Regions from separate parts of the Homo sapiens genome. Here regions 1, 2, 4, 5 and 6 are each linked to region 3. The links are contacts of gene promoters, found by promoter capture Hi-C in blood cells and fetal thymus (Javierre and others, 2016). All regions are on one chromosome and are shown on one strand. The core of a region is centred on a gene start or on the middle of the fragment in contact, and the rest is flanking DNA. Distances in the headings are between cores, read along the strand shown.

What was found. The method cuts DNA at HindIII sites, captures the fragments that hold promoters and counts their contacts. A CHiCAGO score of 5 or more calls a contact.
Region 1: a contact is called between a fragment that was not itself captured here and the fragment with the promoter of LINC02482 in region 3, in 11 of 17 cell types (total CD8 T cells, naive CD4 T cells, total CD4 T cells and 8 more). The highest score is 19.0, in total CD8 T cells.
Region 2: a fragment that was not itself captured here is called in contact with the fragment with the promoter of LINC02482 in region 3 in 16 of 17 cell types (naive CD4 T cells, total CD8 T cells, fetal thymus and 13 more); the score reaches 70.4 in naive CD4 T cells.
Region 4: a fragment that was not itself captured here is called in contact with the fragment with the promoter of LINC02482 in region 3 in 5 of 17 cell types (naive CD4 T cells, naive CD8 T cells, neutrophils and 2 more); the score reaches 7.6 in naive CD4 T cells.
Region 5: a contact is called between a fragment that was not itself captured here and the fragment with the promoter of LINC02482 in region 3, in 2 of 17 cell types (total CD8 T cells and naive CD4 T cells). The highest score is 7.0, in total CD8 T cells.
Region 6: a fragment that was not itself captured here is called in contact with the fragment with the promoter of LINC02482 in region 3 in 11 of 17 cell types (non-activated CD4 T cells, fetal thymus, naive CD8 T cells and 8 more); the score reaches 16.8 in non-activated CD4 T cells.

The regions. Positions count from the first base shown.
Region 1 is chr4:6,855,860-6,858,559 of GRCh38, forward strand. It overlaps KIAA0232, which reads left to right. Exons shown (of 10, transcript NM_014743.3): 5 at 1,305-1,371; 6 at 2,566-2,647. Among named protein-coding and RNA genes, the nearest start is that of TBC1D14, 53 kb to the right of the region's middle. The HindIII fragment of the contact is 1,125 bases long and covers 745-1,869 here.
Region 2 is chr4:6,873,407-6,876,106 of GRCh38, forward strand. All of the region lies in intron 8 of KIAA0232, which reads left to right. Among named protein-coding and RNA genes, the nearest start is that of TBC1D14, 35 kb to the right of the region's middle. RefSeq lists a silencer at 653-812. The HindIII fragment of the contact is 3,243 bases long and covers 1-2,700 here.
Region 3 is chr4:6,672,431-6,675,130 of GRCh38, forward strand. LINC02482 (long intergenic non-protein coding RNA 2482) reads right to left here and starts at 1,451. Exons shown (of 2, transcript NR_134665.1): 1 at 1,254-1,451. MRFAP1L2 (Morf4 family associated protein 1 like 2) reads left to right here and starts at 1,645. Exons shown (of 1, transcript NM_138699.3): 1 at 1,645-2,700. The coding sequence starts at 1,783. The coding sequence ends at 2,142. RefSeq lists an enhancer at 639-1,247 and a silencer at 1,720-1,949. The HindIII fragment of the contact is 2,330 bases long and covers 1,049-2,700 here.
Region 4 is chr4:6,835,846-6,838,545 of GRCh38, forward strand. All of the region lies in intron 3 of KIAA0232, which reads left to right. Among named protein-coding and RNA genes, the nearest start is that of KIAA0232, 54 kb to the left of the region's middle. The HindIII fragment of the contact is 3,921 bases long and covers 1-2,700 here.
Region 5 is chr4:6,815,092-6,817,791 of GRCh38, forward strand. The region is part of intron 2 of KIAA0232; the gene reads left to right. Among named protein-coding and RNA genes, the nearest start is that of KIAA0232, 34 kb to the left of the region's middle. The HindIII fragment of the contact is 2,108 bases long and covers 361-2,468 here.
Region 6 is chr4:6,912,817-6,915,516 of GRCh38, forward strand. The region is part of intron 1 of TBC1D14 (TBC1 domain family member 14); the gene reads left to right. Among named protein-coding and RNA genes, the nearest start is that of TBC1D14, 4.3 kb to the left of the region's middle. The HindIII fragment of the contact is 2,613 bases long and covers 59-2,671 here.

The sequences.
Region 1 (2,700 bases), core at 57-2,556, 180 kb after region 3:
GAATATAATTGCCGTCCTTGTCACACCTTGAGCATTATGGTAAGCAGGTGCTTTCTGGTGCAACTGTTTGTGGTTGAACAGTGTTTATGACTAATATCTGCCATCGTTTTTAAGAGTGTTTTTAAAGGAAAGGGCAACTCTTGTCTGGCCTATTTTTCTATCTTCCTATTAAAACCTGTGGTATGACGTGGACAGAATGTAACTCTAGATGTTTACAATTAACTGTTTTCATTGTAATCTGTTTCTTGCTACTCAAACTGTGTAACCGTGGGATTTCTTATGTAGGATATCTATAATATTTGTGCTGAGTCATTTTGAGTTAAGTGAATGGGGTAAAGTTCTATTTTTAGCCCGTCAAGGCCTAGTGAGGGCACTGGCTTAGCAGAACTCTCCATCACGCGCATCTGTTTGGGTTATGCCCACCAATAAGGACTTGATTCCAGTTTAAATAGGACTTTGGTCACTGAATAAATCTAAAGTTTCTGAGAAATACATTGACTTTTTTTGTCCACTGTAAAAAAATTTTTTTTTCTTCCTGTGAGAAATTGAGACTCTTAAAAGTTAAAGTCTACTAATGAAAGATTATTTGCTTGTGCCTGTTTTCTACATTCATTTTTCTTTAAAGGTTGACTCTTATTTTTACCCTCCCAAATCCAGACTCTTCTATGTACTCTCCTTAAATTTTAAACTCCCAAGCTTTGTATAGAAGTCGATAATCTGGTCCAGATGCTGAAAAGAAGACAAAGCTTTCACATTTGCAATATTGGCTTCATTTTCTGGACTTCTGTTGTTTTAATCATGAGTGTTCATGTTTCTTTAAAACAGAAAAAAAAAAAATCACCTTGTTTTCTTCAGGGTGTGAGCTCCTAGAGAACTAAGATGAGGTTTTGTGATTTTCCTTTGTTTTAAGTCTGGTATAAGATCTCGCTCACATAAATATTTAATACTCTTTTTGATGGTGACTGACTTTTGGTCGTATGATGGACATTTAGGCCCTTAAATCTGCCCCATGAGCAAGATGACACACCTTTGGAAAAACAGAAGCTATTCTGGGAGGTACATGAATATGTTCACATTTTATCACTAAGTTTCATTTAATATGCCTTATTAGTAATAAGCATGTATACCAATTTGTATCTACAAACCTATAATTTTTAAACTGTAGTATTCACGTAAATATTGGTAAGATATTTATTTTGGAATGTGGATGATTTGTAAAACCTGTGTATTAAAACAAAAGTATACAAATACCTGATTTGTACATACCTGGCTGTAACCTAATGTGTCTTTTTGTTGTCATGCAGAGCTCTGGTATCGAGACTTTAGTGGAGGAGCTCTGCTCCAGACTGAAAGACCTTCAGAGTAAGCAAGGTGAGGTCAAAAGCACTGTGCGCACACATGCCAGGATTACATCCCTGAGGAATCTGGATTGGGGAAAATCTTAGAATTGATCAGAAAAGAAAACAACCAGAACAAAGTCTTTGTGTCCAGTGTGTGTCACTAGGCCAGCCTCATGCTCCATCTGCAGCTCTGTTAGTGGCTTCTGTGTCAGACCCAGCAGTCACTCATAGAGATTCCTGCAACCAAGGGAGGGACTTAGTCCACAGGTGCCCTCAGAGATAGGAAACACTTCATGGTTTTCTGTTTTTTGGGTTTTTTTAATTGTTGTTGGCTTCAAGTTGAAGCTCAGAGATCAGGAACAATATTGTCTCTTTCCTTTCCCCATCCTTGCCCCTCTGTTAATATCTGCCTGTTGATGTTAAGACTGCTAAATTACGACATTAAATTAAGATGTTAAGACATGAATTACTTCAGGTTTGGAAGGGACTTCTGTTTTGACTCAGCTTTTTTGAAAACACAGACTTGGCAAGCTTATTTAGTTATTTCGATATATGAATCCTCCTCATACTTTTTCTAACTTGTTTGCAATCCCTAAGAACGAGACCTTCATATTAAGGGTGAGGATCCTTGTTTCCTTGCCCTCTTTATGGTCATTTTGCTGCCCACCAAGCCTTGAGCCTGCCTCTTAAGGGCACAGTTGATTTGTAACCTAAGGCAGTATCCTAGGCTAAACTAAGGGATAGCCCTTTTTCCTGTTTCAGTTGAAATAGCCCTTGCTCACCTACATGTTAAGTAATAGAGCAAATTGTAATAAAGAATATTCTTTACAGATTAGTTTTGGTCAAGATGAGTCAATGTAAAGTCTATGAGTGTAGAATTTTGTGAGAAAATAGTTTTGGAATCTAAACAGATGTTCTGTCCTTCTGGTCTAATTAATAAGTACACAGGGGACTTCAGTCTCTTAATTAAGTGCCTCTAGAGCACTGTATCAGTGACGAGATGAACAACTCTCACCTCTTGGCCTAATGCTAATGTGGTTTAATCGGAGAATTCCCTCTGGCACACTGAAAAAATAGATTTTTATTAAAAAGATCGGTATTGAGTTTGCCTTTTAAGCACCAAAGTCTCTATTTCTTGTTAAAATTAGTTGAGAAACTTTGAAATACATTAGCATTTATTAACTAGATATAAGACAAATCTTTCTTAATTTTTGTTTCATAACAGAAGAGAAGATTCACAAAAAGTTAGAGGGGTCTCCCTCTCCAGAGGCAGAATTATCCCCTCCAGCAAAGGATCAAGTGGAAATGTATGTAAGATTGTATTCGGTAATAAAGTGTGCATTTGTTAAAATCAGATGAA
Region 2 (2,700 bases), core at 90-2,589, 200 kb after region 3:
CAAGACACAGACACAGTTAATGGAATGAAGGTGGGATGTGGCCACAGCTGTGCCACAGAGGACCTCTCAGGAAGAGCTAGGAGGGAGAGGAGGATGCCACCTTGTGGAAAAGAACCAATTCCTTGCAGTGGCATAGGATGATTTTGAGACACAGAGTTCATGTTTCTTTAGTAAAGGGCAACCTTAGCACCCTTAGTCCAGTTTTCTGTCATTAGTTAGTAAAGAATCCAGTTTCACCTCTTAGCTCTAGGTTCCTGGTTATCTGTACAGTCTCTTAGTGGATACTGGTGTTTGTACATAATATTTTTGTTTTTACAGTGAAGTGGTATATAGAGAAACTCTCAGTGCATAAATACTGGTAATTATTTCTTTTGAATGACCTTTAGCTCACACTGTGAGTTAAGTCCCTGCATATTTGCCCTGTAGCATCATGAAGCATCCTTCTTTAGCTTATGTGGGTTGGGGCATTTAGTCTCAGAAGGATAGCCAAGAAAACAGGTAGTCACTTACCTACTCAGCAGAAGTGGCTGGGGACTCCTAATGCTTCTAATATTGGATATGATTCATCACAAGCAGTTGCTGCTCTGAGCCAGGGGCTGACCTGGGAGCTCACAGCATCTCTGGAAAGGAAGAGTAGCATTGTCCCCTTTACAGTAAGGCGAGGAAACAGGCTCAGAAAAGAGGCAGCTTGTTCAGGTAACCATATAAGAAAGCCCCAGCTTTGTGCAGTCTGCCCCCTGCTGGCCTTGCTGCGCATTCATATGTGCATCCCTTCAGCACTTGGGTTAGGCACTGTTCTAGACTTGGGAATGCATAGGCAAACAGATCGTGTCCCTGTCCTCCCCCTGCTCAGGTACCTTCTCAACAGGGACTTGAGGAAATAGGGCACAGACCATGTGACAGCTGGGGCTGCCTGCAGGGAGAGGTGCCAGGCAGCAGTGGCTTGTGCAGGGACAGGAATGCATTGGGTATGCCCCCAACATGACTGGCAAAGAAGGGATGGCATGGGAGTGTGGTGGGGATGAGGCCAGCCAGGCAGCTGGGAGCCAGACCACAGAGGGCCTTGTAGACTCTGTGCACCAGGAGTGCCGTCCCAAACAGCAGTCTCCACAGCTCACGCCCCTGGATTTTCAGTGCTTTCAAGACTCGAGTAATGTAAGCGTCTGGATGATTTTAGCATTAAAGACAGAGAGTCCTGCAGGGAAGCAGTACAGACAGGTGGTGAAAGGCCCAGGATTGAGAACTGTATTGGAATCCAGAGCTTCTTTCCCCAGCTATTAGGCTTTGGGTGCTGACTGAGCCTTTCTGTGCCTCTGTAGTCTGTATGTATAAAAGGAGGCTAGAAGAATGCCCTCATTGTAAGGTAAAGTGCCTAGAACAGTGGCTGGCATGTCATAGCCCGAAACAGGGTGGTGGTCAACTTGAGCATCATGAAGACTATCAGCAGCAGTTCAGCATCACCTTTTCCAAATACCCTGTGGCACAATAAAACCCTCTTGTATGTACAGAATTCCTAAAGCAGGAAGAGAAAATGAAGGAGTGGGGTGTGGAGATGGGCCTGCCTGCCTCTGAGCTATCCTTGTCAAGGAAACCATGTCCTATCCACTCCATGCCCCTCAGCCAGTATAAGTGGTGGCCATATGGAGTGGGCCATGGAGTGAGAAGTCAGCCAAGGAAAAGATGCCTCCTTAGGAGAGATGAAGCCAGGGTTCCTCCCAGCCTCAGCAGAGGACACATGGCATCCTCCCCAGCCGCCCTAGGGCAACCACGCCTCCAAGCCTATGGCTTTGATAAGCAGCGGTCATGGGTGCAATGTGTGTGCCCGGCACTGTGCTTGAGGCTTCACCTCTTTGAATTTGCACAGAAATGTAGGAGGGAAAATGGTGATGTTCTCATCTTAGAGATGAGGATACTAGGGCTCAAAGAGGTTAAATAATTTGTGCAAAGTTACATCACAAGTAAATAGCATGACCTGGAATTGACTGAAGTCTGTCTAATCCCAGAGCCTGGGGTATTCTCATGAACCTCAACTAGTAACTTGGAGTTCTTGGAGCCGTCAGAGAGAACAGCTGTGGAGAGTCTTCCATGTGGCCAGTGCAGCTGCAGGAAGCAGCCCAGCAGGGCCCAGATGGTCTTACCCTTGGCACAGCCTCGCTACTCTGTGCCAAGGTAGAAGGGCGCAGCAGTCACTTGCTCCAGCCTTGTCCTTTGGGGTGTTGTGCAAGGGGCAGGCATGTCATCTCGTCAAACTACCTTGTGGCAACTCTGTGGCAGGGGATGGGGGGTGTGATCTGGTTTTGAGGAAGTAGATGCTCAAGGGTGTTAAAGGACTTAATGCACCATGAATGTCAATGCCAGAGTCCAAAACCCTGGCCAAGTTCCTCCTTTTACTCTGCACTGTGCCTCTGCCCCAGCTATGTTTCTCATGGAGGTAAGGGGAGTAAGAGGCTGTTCTGGATGAAGACCAGCAGTTCTCAGTGCATTAGAATTGCCTGGGAGCAAATCTGCTTTTCAGAAAGTGCCCAGCCCCTGCCCAGGACAGTTCATTTGGAATCTCTGGCAGGAGTCTAAGCCTCTCTAAAGCCCCCAGATGATGAGAATATGCAGCCAGGGTTGAGAACTACTGGGCTCGTTGGATTTGTTTGATATCTTCTCATCCCAGTTTTTTTCCCATTTTGTGGGGCCATTTGCCTGATGGAA
Region 3 (2,700 bases), core at 201-2,700:
GGTATGGAACTCCTGAGCTCAAGCGATCCTCTCACCTCAGCCTCCCAAAGTGCTGGGATTATAGGCGTGAGCCACACGCCCGGCCTGGGTGTTTATGATTTAGAATGTTGGTGAGAGGTGACAGTGTGCTGGCAGTCCTCACAGCCCTCGCTCACTCTCGGTGCCTCCTCTGCCTGGGCTCCCACTTTGGCAGCACTTGAGGAGCCCTTCAGCCCACTGCTGCACTGTGGAGGCCCCTTTCTGGGCTGGCCAAGGCCAGAGCCGGCTCTCTCAGCTTGCAGGGAGGTGTGGAGGGAGAGGCGCGAGCGGGCACCGGGGCTGCACACGGCGCTTGCGGGCCAGCTGGAGTTCAGGGTGGGCGTGGGCTTGGTGGGCCCCGCACTCGGAGCAGCCGGCTGGCCCTGCCAGCCCCCGGCAATGAGGGGCTTAGCACCCGGGCCAGCGGCTGCGGAGGGTGTACTGGGTCCCTCAGCAGTGCCAGCCCACCGGCGCTGTGCTCGATTTCTCACCGGGCCTTAGCTGCCTTTCCGAGGGGCAGGGCTCGGGACCTGCAGCCCGCCATGCCTGAGCCTCCCACCCCCTCCATGGGCTCCTGTGCTGCCCGAGCCTCCTCGACGAGCACCACCCCCTGCTCCACGGCGCCCAGTCCCATCACCACCCAAGGGCTGAGGAGTGTGGGCGCACGGTGCCGTTCTCGCAGGCAGCTCCACCTGCAGCCCTGGTGTGGGATCCACTTGGTGAAGCCAGCTGGGCTCCTGAGTCTGGTGGGGATGTGGAGAACCTTTATGTCTAGCTCAGGGATTGTAAATACACCAATCAGCACCGTGTGTCTAGCTCAGGGTTTGTGAATATACCAATCGACTCTGCTGGGGCCTTGGAGAACCTTTGTGTCTAGCTCAGGGATTGTAAACGCACCAATCAGCACCCTGTCAAAACAGACCACTCGGCTCTACCAATCAGCAGGATGTGGGTGGGGCCAGATAAGACAATAAAAGCAGGCTGCCGGAGCCAGCAGTGGCAACCGGCTCAGGTCCCCTTCTATTGTGGAAGCTTTGTTCTTTCTCTCTTTGCAATAAATCCTGCTGCTGCTCACTCTTTGGGTCCACACTGCCTTTATGAGCCGTAACAGGTCTGCAGTTTCACTCCTGAGCCGGCGAGACCACGAACCCACCAGAAGGAAAAAACTCCGAACACATCCGAACATCAGAAGGAACAAACTCCAGACGCGCCACTTTAAGAGCTGTAACACTCACCGCGAGGGTCCGTGGCTTCATTCTTGAAGTCAGTGAGACCAAGAACCCACCAATTCCGGACACATTGGGAACTTAGAGCAGTGCTTGGGACATGGTTATCAGCGTCAGATATTTCCTTAAACTAGCGTGAAGTCGACTTTAACCTTCCAGCAGTGTGAGTGAGGGCCCTGACCCTAGAATCAACGCCCAAAGAGCTGTGGCGCTACAGCGGGCGGGGACATGGGGTGCGCATGCGTGCGGGGGGGTACGCGTGCGTGCAAGTGCGCGTGCGCGCGCAGGACCGCTGAGGCGGGAGCCCCGAATGCGGTTCTCGCTTGCTGCGTGGCGGTAAAGGACCGCAGGTGTCGTAAAAGGGCCGCAGTGGCAGCGTCCTGGCCGACGGCTAGTAGCCCATTTTGGATACCGTCCTCGCTGCGGAAAGTTGGGGCAACCTGTTGCTAGTCTGGTCGTTGGTGACAGCGAGGCTTCCGCGCTCGCTGCTGGTGAGCAGCCCCGGCGTGCCCCGCGGGCTGGAAGAGGCGGCGGCGTGATGCGGCCCGTGGACGCGGACGAGGCGCGGGAGCCCCGCGAGGAGCCGGGCAGCCCGCTGAGCCCCGCGCCCCGCGCCGGCCGCGAGAACCTGGCCTCCCTGGAGCGCGAGCGCGCCCGGGCGCACTGGCGGGCCCGCAGGAAGCTGCTGGAGATCCAGAGCCTGCTCGACGCCATCAAGAGTGAGGTGGAGGCAGAGGAGCGGGGCGCCCGGGCCCCAGCACCCCGCCCGCGTGCGGAGGCTGAGGAGCGGGTGGCTCGGCTGTGCGCCGAAGCAGAGAGGAAGGCTGCGGAGGCGGCGCGGATGGGCAGGCGGATCGTGGAGCTGCACCAGCGGATCGCCGGCTGCGAGTGCTGCTGAGCCGGCGAGGCCGCGCGGGTCTGGAGCGGAGCGCGGCGGGGAGTGTCCCGCGTGGAAGGCGCTGGGTAGGCAGGGAGGGGAGCGCAGAGCCGTGCCACGCTCTCCGCGGAGTTGGTTTCATTCTTTTTTCATAGGTAATTAGAGAAAATAATTTGATATGTTGTTGTAAAGAGTCATGACCACTGGAAGTATTTTCAGGACGTAGACCTGGTGGGTCACTACGTGGGGGGAGAGAGGTGTGAAGCGGAGGTACATGCTGGAAACGTGTGAATGTTGTTACGAGATTGGAGCGTTTGCGATGACCTTCCTGCAGGTGGAAGCATTGTGCACAGGTGGTTGGGTTTGTTTGACTCCCGGATATGAGAATATCAAGCTCAAAATTTATGTTGTGATGATGAATTTCTCCCACTTGTACTTTAGGTGGCCAACTGACGAACTGTGTTCACCTGATAAGGAGTCGTGGCTGCTTGGACAGGCTCAAACCAAGAGAGCCTTTCGTTTTGTCTCCCCTGTTTTTCTGCCTGCGTTTTCTCCACATTAGCCACTCAATTTCCAGTA
Region 4 (2,700 bases), core at 108-2,607, 160 kb after region 3:
ATTTTCTTTATCCAGTCTATTATTGATGGACATTTGGGTTGGTTCCATGTCTTTGCTATTGTGAATAGTGCTGCAATAAACATACATGTGCATGTGTCTTTATAGTAGCATGATTTATAATCCTTTGGGTATATACCCAGTAATGGGAATGCTGGGTCCAATGGTATTTCTAGTTCTAGATCCTTGAGGGATCGCCACACTGTCTTCCACAATGGTTGAACTAATTTACAGTCCCACCAATAGTGTAGAAGCGTTCCTATCTCTCCACATCTTCTCCAGCATCTGTTGTTTCCTGACTTTTTGATGATGGCCATTCTAACTGGTGTGAGATGGTATCTCATTGTGGTTTTGATTTGCATTTCTCTGATGACCAGTGATGATGAGCATTTTTTCATATGTCTGTTGGCTGCATAAATGTCTTCTTTTGAGAAGTGTCTATGCATATCCTTTGCCCACTTTTTGATGGGGTTGTTTGTTTGTTTTTTGTTTTGTTTTTTTTTTTTGGCTTTGCAAATCATATATGTATATTGAAAATTAGAATACACAGTTTGGTGGCTTTGAGTCCTAACACTTTCCCCCCATTTCTTGTACTTGTAGAAATATTGTTCTCACTTTTTCCTGATTTCTTTGTTTCTCACTCTATTGTGCTTAATAATTGTATTAAGGGTTGTTTGTCCTTTTTCTTTTTTTTTTTTCTTTTCTTTTTTTTTTTTTTAGTATTTATTGATCATTCTTGGGTGTTTCTCGGAGAGGGGGATTTGGCAGGGTCGTAGGACAATAGTGGAGGGAAGGTCAGCAGATAAACATGTGAACAAAGGTCTCTGGTTTTCCTAGGCAGAGGGCCCTGCCGCCTTCCGCAGTGTTTGTGTCCCTGAGTACGTGAGATTAGGGAGCGGTGATGACTCTTAAGGAGCATGCTGCCTTCAAGCCTCTGTTTAACAAAGCACATCTTGCACCGCCCTTAATCCATTTAACCCTTAGTGGACACAGCACATGTTTCAGAGAGCACGGGGTTGGGGGCAAGGTTATAGATTAACAGCATCCCAAGGCAGAAGAATTTTTCTTAGTACAGAACAAAATGGAGTCTCCTGTCTATTTCTTTCCACACAGACACGGTAACAATCTGATCTCCCTTTCTTTTCCCCACACTTCCCCCCTTTCTATTCGACAAAACCGCCATCGTCATCATGGCCCATTCTCCATGAGCTGTTGGGTACACCTCCCAGACGGGGTGGCGGCCGGGCAGAGGGGCCCCCACCTCCCAGACGGGGCAGCGGCCGGGCGGGGGCTGCCCCCCACCTCCCGAACGGGCCGGCTGGCGGGGCGGAGGGGCTCCTCACTTCCCAGGCGGGGCGGCTGCCGGGCGGAGGGGCTCCTCACTTCTCAGAAGGGGCGGCGGGTCACAGACGCTCCTCACCTCCCAGACGGGTTGGCGGCGGGGCAGAGACGCTCCTCAGTTCCCAAATGGGGTCGCGGCTGGGCAGAGGTGCTCCCCACATCCCAGACGATGGGCGGCCGGGCAGAGAGGCTCCTCACTTCCTAGACGGGATGACGGCCGGGAAGAGGCGCTCCTCACTTCCCAGGCTGGGCGGCCGGGCAGAGGGGCTCCTCACATCCCAGACGATGGGCGGCTGGGCAGAGACGCTCCTCACTTCCTAGACGGGGTGGCGGCCAGGCAGAGGCTGCAGTCTCGGCACTTTGGGAGGCCAAGGCAGGCGGCTGGGAGGTGGAGGTTGTAGCGAGCCGAGATCACGCCACTGCATTCCAGCCTGGGCAACATTGAGCACTGAGTGAGCGAGACTCCGTCTGCAATCCCGGCACCTCGGGAGGCCGAAGCTGGCAGATCACTCGCGGTCAGAAGCTGGAGACCAGCACAGCCAACACGGCGAAACCCCGTCTCCACCAAAAAATACAAAAACCAGTCAGGCGTGGGCGGCGCGTGCCAGCAATCCCAGGCACCGGGCAGGCTGAGGCAGGAGAATCAGGCAGGGAGGTTGCAGTGAGCCGAGATGGCGGCAGCACAGTCCAGCCTTGGCTGGGCATTAGAGGGAGACCGTGCAAAGGGGAGAGGGGGAGGGGGAGGGAGAGGGAGAGGGAGAGGCAGAGGCGGTTGTTTGTTTTTTTCTTGTAAATTTGTTTAAGTTCTTTGTAGATTCTGGATATTAGCCCTTTGTCAGATGGATAGATTGCAAAAATTTACTCCCATTCTGTAGAATTAGGATTTCTAACCTGTAGTGTTGCATTTGAGAGTCTATGGAGCAATACCTTTCAGATTCTGAGAAAAATTATCTCCATTCTAAAAGATCTTACCCGAACTAGTAAGTATGAGGGTAACAAAGATAGCTTTTTTTTTTTTTTTTTGAGACAGGGTCTTACTCTGTCACCCAAACTGGAGCACAGTGGCGTGATCTCTGCTCACTGCAGCCTCCGCCTCCCAGGCTCAAGCAATTCTCCCACCTCAGCCTTCCAAGTAGCTGGGACTGCAGGTGGACACCACCATGCCCGGCTAATTTTTGTATTTTTCTTGGAGACAGAGTTTCACAATGTTGGCCAGGCTGTTCTCAAACTCCTGGGCTCAAGTGATCTGCCCACCTCTGCCTCCCAAATTGCTAGGATTATAGGTATGAGCCACCATATGCCCCACCTAAAGATAGCTTTTGACAGATGAGGCTTCTGAGGTTACTGGGAGTATTCTAGGTC
Region 5 (2,700 bases), core at 165-2,664, 140 kb after region 3:
TTTTTATAGAATTTAAACTAAAATTTAACTTCGTATTGACTAAATTCCATGTTTGGAATGAGTGTAAAGGCAGATAGACAGTTTGAAATTTGAGTGTTTGCCAGTTGTGTTCCTCATCATGCCAGGTGAATAAACATGGGTTTTTGCCTGTGCTTGTCAAAACCAGCACTGACCCTCAGTGCTGTGACCATTAGAGGTAAGTTTCACCACGGTGGATCATACGTGAAGTAAGTTTTAATTAAACAGATAATTCGTGAACCAACATACCTAGGAGTCTCCTTTCAGTTCACAACTAGAAATAGTCTCTAATTTGGTCAAATGTTTACCCCTCTACCAAAGGCTTGCTGCTTAGGTAGAGAAAGCTTAGTGCCCGGTATTCTGTACGTGGGTCATCTGCTAACAGTTTGAGTTAAAGCAAGGAGAATGAATACTCTTTAGCTCCAAGAACATTTAGATCTGTCATTATGGTACAGGAAGAAGCCATCGTGTGGTTGGTGCTTCTGTCTAAAAACCCCAGTTATTACTATCCACTGAAAAGTACTGCATAGATGAATGTAGAGTAGTCTGAAGCTACTTGTCAGCCTTTACTTTCTTTTTCTTTCTTTTCCTTGGTCCTCTGCAGTCTGTACTGTGTAGATTTTAATCACTCATGACTATAGATATAACCAGTTATTTTAAAATTTCATGCAATCAGATTTTGGACAAGTTGTAAGAACGGTTCTCTTAAGGATAATAATGCAAGCAAAGGTTTTAACCAGCTTTGAGATCATGTGGGCGTTCAATATGCTTTGCTTTATTTTGCCTTCGTATGCTGATTTTGTCTCACCTCCTTGAATCCTTTCACTTGGCTAAATAAATGTGAACTCTCTATCGACAACAAAAAGAATCTTATGGTTGGCTTGAGATCACATTTTAAAGTAAACATAATAAAACTAAAACAATATATCAGTCTTTACAGTGAATCCAATCTTTCATGGTGTCAATTTTTAAGGCCTTTGAGTTGTACAGTGAAACGAATATTTTAGAGGTTCTGTGGTAGACAATTGTGTAGAACAGCATTCTTCTGATATCCTTGTATCCTCTGGGTTTGATGTATATATTATTGGATTCAATTACCTGAAAATTTGTGTAAAATTTTTGCATCTGTACTCATGAGGCATATTGGTCTTCTTTGTTTCTTATAATGTCTTTTTTTTGTTTTTTTTTTTTGAGACGGAGCCTCGCTCTGTTGCCCAGGCTCGAGTGCAGTGGCGTGATCTCGGCTCACTGCAAGCTCTACCTCCCGGGTTCACGCCATTCTCCTGCCTCAGCCTTCCGAGTAGCTGGGACTACAAGCGCCTGCCACCACGCCTGGCTAATTTTTTTGTATTTTAGTAGAGACAGGGTTTCACCGTGTTAGCCAGGATGGTATCGATCTCCTGACCTCGTGATCCACCCGCCTCGGCCTCCCAAAGTGCTGGGATTACAGGCGTGAGCCACCTCGCTCAGCCTGTTTCTTGTAATATCTTTATTGGCTTTTGGTATCAGTTTAATGCTGTCTTCATAACATGATTTGAGAAGTATTGGGAAAGTTTGTATAGAATTGGAATTACGCTTTTCTTAAATATTTGGTAGAATTCACCTTTGAAACTATATGGGCCTAGCAATTTCTTTGTGAATTTTAAACTATAAATTCAATTCCCTTTATAGATATAGGACTGTTCATTCTGTTTCTTCTTGAGTAGGCTTTGGTAGTTTGTATCTTTCAAGGAATTTTTCCATTTCATTTAAGTTATTGAATTTATTGGTATAAAGTTTTTCTAATATGCCTTATTCTCATTTTTATACCTATAGAATCTGTAGTGATCTCACCTCTCTCATTCCTGATACTGGTAATCTATGTCTTCTCTCTTTCCTGATCAGTCTGGCTAGAGGTTAAAGAACCTGTTTTTGGTTTTATTGTTTTTCTGCTTTCTATTTCACTGGTTTCTGCTCTGAGCTTTTTTCTGCTTAGTTTAGGCTTCGTTTGCTCTTCTTTGTCTAGTTTCTTAAGGTGAAAACTGAGATCATTGATTTAAGACCTTTTCTAATGTAGACAGTGCTCTACATTTCTTTCTCAGGACTGCTTTTGTGGCATCCTAAAAATATTGATAGGTTGTGTTTTCATTTATATTCAGTTCAAAATATAGTACTTCCTAATTGGCATGATCTCGACTCGCTGCAGCCGCCTCCTCCTCCCAGGTTCAAGTGATTCTTTCACCTCAGCCTCCCAAGTAGCTGGGACTACAAGCGTCCGCCACCATGCCCGGCTAATTTTTTTGTATTTTTAGTAGACGGGGTTTCACCGTGTTAGCCAGGATGGTCTCGATCTCCTGACCTCGTGATCCGCCTGCCTCGGCCTCCCAAAGTGCTGGGATTACAGGCGTGAGCCACTGTGCCTAGCCTCCCCTATTGTTTAGAAATATGTTTTTAGTTCTCAAATGTTTGGAAGCTTTTCCAGACATCTTGATGTTACCAGTTATAATTCCATGTGGTCAGAGAACATGCATGTATGATTGAATTCTTTTAAGCTTATTGCACCTTTTCTGTGGCCAAAGATACAGTTTATCTTAGGTCAAGTTGGTTAATAATGTTGTTCTCTCTATATCCTTACTGGTTTTTTTGTGTATTTCTTCTTGCAGTGACTGACAAGGAGGTTTTGAGATCTAGTGTAATTGTGGA
Region 6 (2,700 bases), core at 115-2,614, 240 kb after region 3:
ACTGTCTTCATTTTGCTGCAAGGAAACCAAGGCTCGGGGAAGTTAAGAAATGAGTCCAAGCTTACACAGCTGGTGAGCGAAGGAGCTGGGACTTGAACCCAGGCAGCCTGCTGCTGGAACCTGCATTATTTTTTCCCTCCTGTTGATTTTGTTTTGTTTTTTGTTTTGTTCTGTTCTATTCTATTCTATTTTTTGAGACAGCGTTTCGCTCTTGTTGCCCAGGCTGGAGTGCAATGGTGTGAGATCTCGGCTCACTGCAACCTTTGTCTCCCAGGTTCAAGCGATTCTCCTGCCTCAGCCTCTCCAGTAGCTGGGATTACAGGCATGTGCCACCATGCCTGGCTAATTTTGTATTTTTAGTGGAGACAGGGTTTTGCTATATTGGCCAGGCTGGTTTTGAACCCCTGACTTCAGGTGATCCACCTGCCTGGGCCTCCCAAAGTGCTGGGATTACAGGCGTGAGCCACCACGCCTGGCCTATTTTATTTTTAAAACTTCATTTGCAGCCTAACAAACATACATAGAAGTGTAAGAATGGTTAAGTGTTCAGCTTATCGATGATCAGGGTTATTGGGTGAATATACCTTTTGGGCAACATTAAGGGAGCTGAGAGGAAGGGGGATAAAGTTTAGGGACTGCATTCATAAGTACGCCAGCAGGCCATGTATGAGCTTTGATGTCAGATCTGGTTTGAACTCAGTTTCTGTTGCTGTGTGACCTTGGGTGCGTGACTTAGCCTCTCTGAATCTCATAGTTTCCTCAGTGCCCTTGGCAGGCTTGTGATTATTAGAGCATGTGATGGCATCCCGCATGCTTGGTGCATGCTAAATGCTCAGTAAATTATTTCTCTTATGAATAATTAAGATTATAAACTATACCGGTTTTAAGTAGTCTAAATATCTTCCTAATGTATCATTTGCCTCCCAGTCACTTCACAGCTACTTAGGAAAATTAGTTAATTAGTAATTTACCAAATCACTAAGTGAAGCTGAAACATTTTGCATTGAAAGTCTTTAATTTAAAATGTCCTGGCCAGGCGCTGTGGCTCATGCCTCTAATCCCAGCAGTTTGGGAGGTTGAGGAGGGTGGATCACTTGAGCTCAGGAGTTCAAGACCAGCCTGGGCAACATGGTGAAACCCTACCAAAACAACAACAACAACAACAAAAAATTAGCTGGGTGGACGTGGTGGCGGGCACCTGTGGTCCCAGCTACTCAGGATGCTGAGGTGGGAGGCTCACTTGAGCCTGGGAGGTGGAGGTTGCAGTGAACCAAGATCATACATCTGTACTGCAGCCTGGGTGACAGAGACCCCATCTCAAAAAAAAAAAAAAAGTTCCACCTGTGCCTTTAATCATAACCAGTGGTCAGTATAAGTTAAGTGTCCGCTTCTTCGGGTTGTGAAGGAGCCTTTGAGGACCCTGAACAATAACCGCAGTTTCTGCCTGGTTTGCCGAAACATACATGGGCTGAAACTTACTTAAACAGCATTGTGTTAAGTTCCAGGTGTCTGAAAGTTGCCACTCACCCTCTGGAGGAATATGTGAGCTTCTAGGAAATTTTTTTCAGGACTATTTTTATCCTAAAGAATCACCCATTTAAAAGCCAAACTACTTTTATAATGGCCTTTTCCATTTTACATAATGCAGATCAATCCACTGTTTTAGGCTGTGTGTGTAGCAGTGGAAACAGTGAGTGCCTCGGCTACTCAGGCTAGCCCGGCACAGCTCTGTTACTACGCACCACCCTTTAGACCGCAGTCTTCTTTCAGCTCTTTGGGTGGTTGTGGAGGTGACAGAACTAGTGCATATAGACATGGAATGCAGTGCCTGATGTGTCATCTGCGCTTGGGGAGCGGAGGCAGCTAGCTGGTCATGTTCGTGAGCCTGGAGCGTCCAGTCCTTTCTGCCTGAGCCAGGACTTGAATTAAAAAAGAGAAAGAGGCTGGGCTCAATGGCTCACATCTGTAATCCCAGCACTTTGGGAGGCTGAGGCAGGCGATCACTTGAGGTCAGGAGTTTGAGACTAGCCTGGCCAACAGGGTGAAACCCTGTCTCTACTAAAAATACAAAAATTAGCCGGGCGTGGTGGTGGGCGGCTGTAATCCCAGCTACTCAGGAGGCTGAGGCAGGAGAATCGCTTGAACCCGGGAGGCGGAGGTTGTGGTGAGCCCAGATCATGCCACTGCACTCCAGCCTGGGCGACAGAGTGAGACTCTGTCTCAGAAACAAAACAAAAAGAGAAAGAGATGCAGGGGTTGGTGCTTGTGGAGCCCTCTACCAGGCAGGCCAGTTCACAGGGAGGTGCCCCATTGCCCAGTGGGTTCTCCTTGGCATTAGAGGCTCGACTGGGCTGTTTCTCTTGAACCGTGCTGCCCTCCAGGGCAGGACGCTCATAAGAGCAGCTGCTTTTATGAGGAGGCTCTTAGTCTCCCCAGAATCCTCACCAGGAAACATGGGGGACCCTGAGAGGCCTTGCGGAGAATGCTGTGGGTGCTGGGGACAGATGCCTCAGGTCAACCCCCTGCGACCGGGGTAGGGGGTTGGGGGTCACTGCACCTGCTCAGCCCAGTTTTGTTATTCCCATCTGGAAACGGTAGAACTCAGCATGCTGTTTACAGGGTGAGGTGAGCAGAGGTGCTTATGTCTGTGACATGCCTTTGTGAGCAGCAAAGCTTACTGAGGGGCCTTGGAGTCACAGA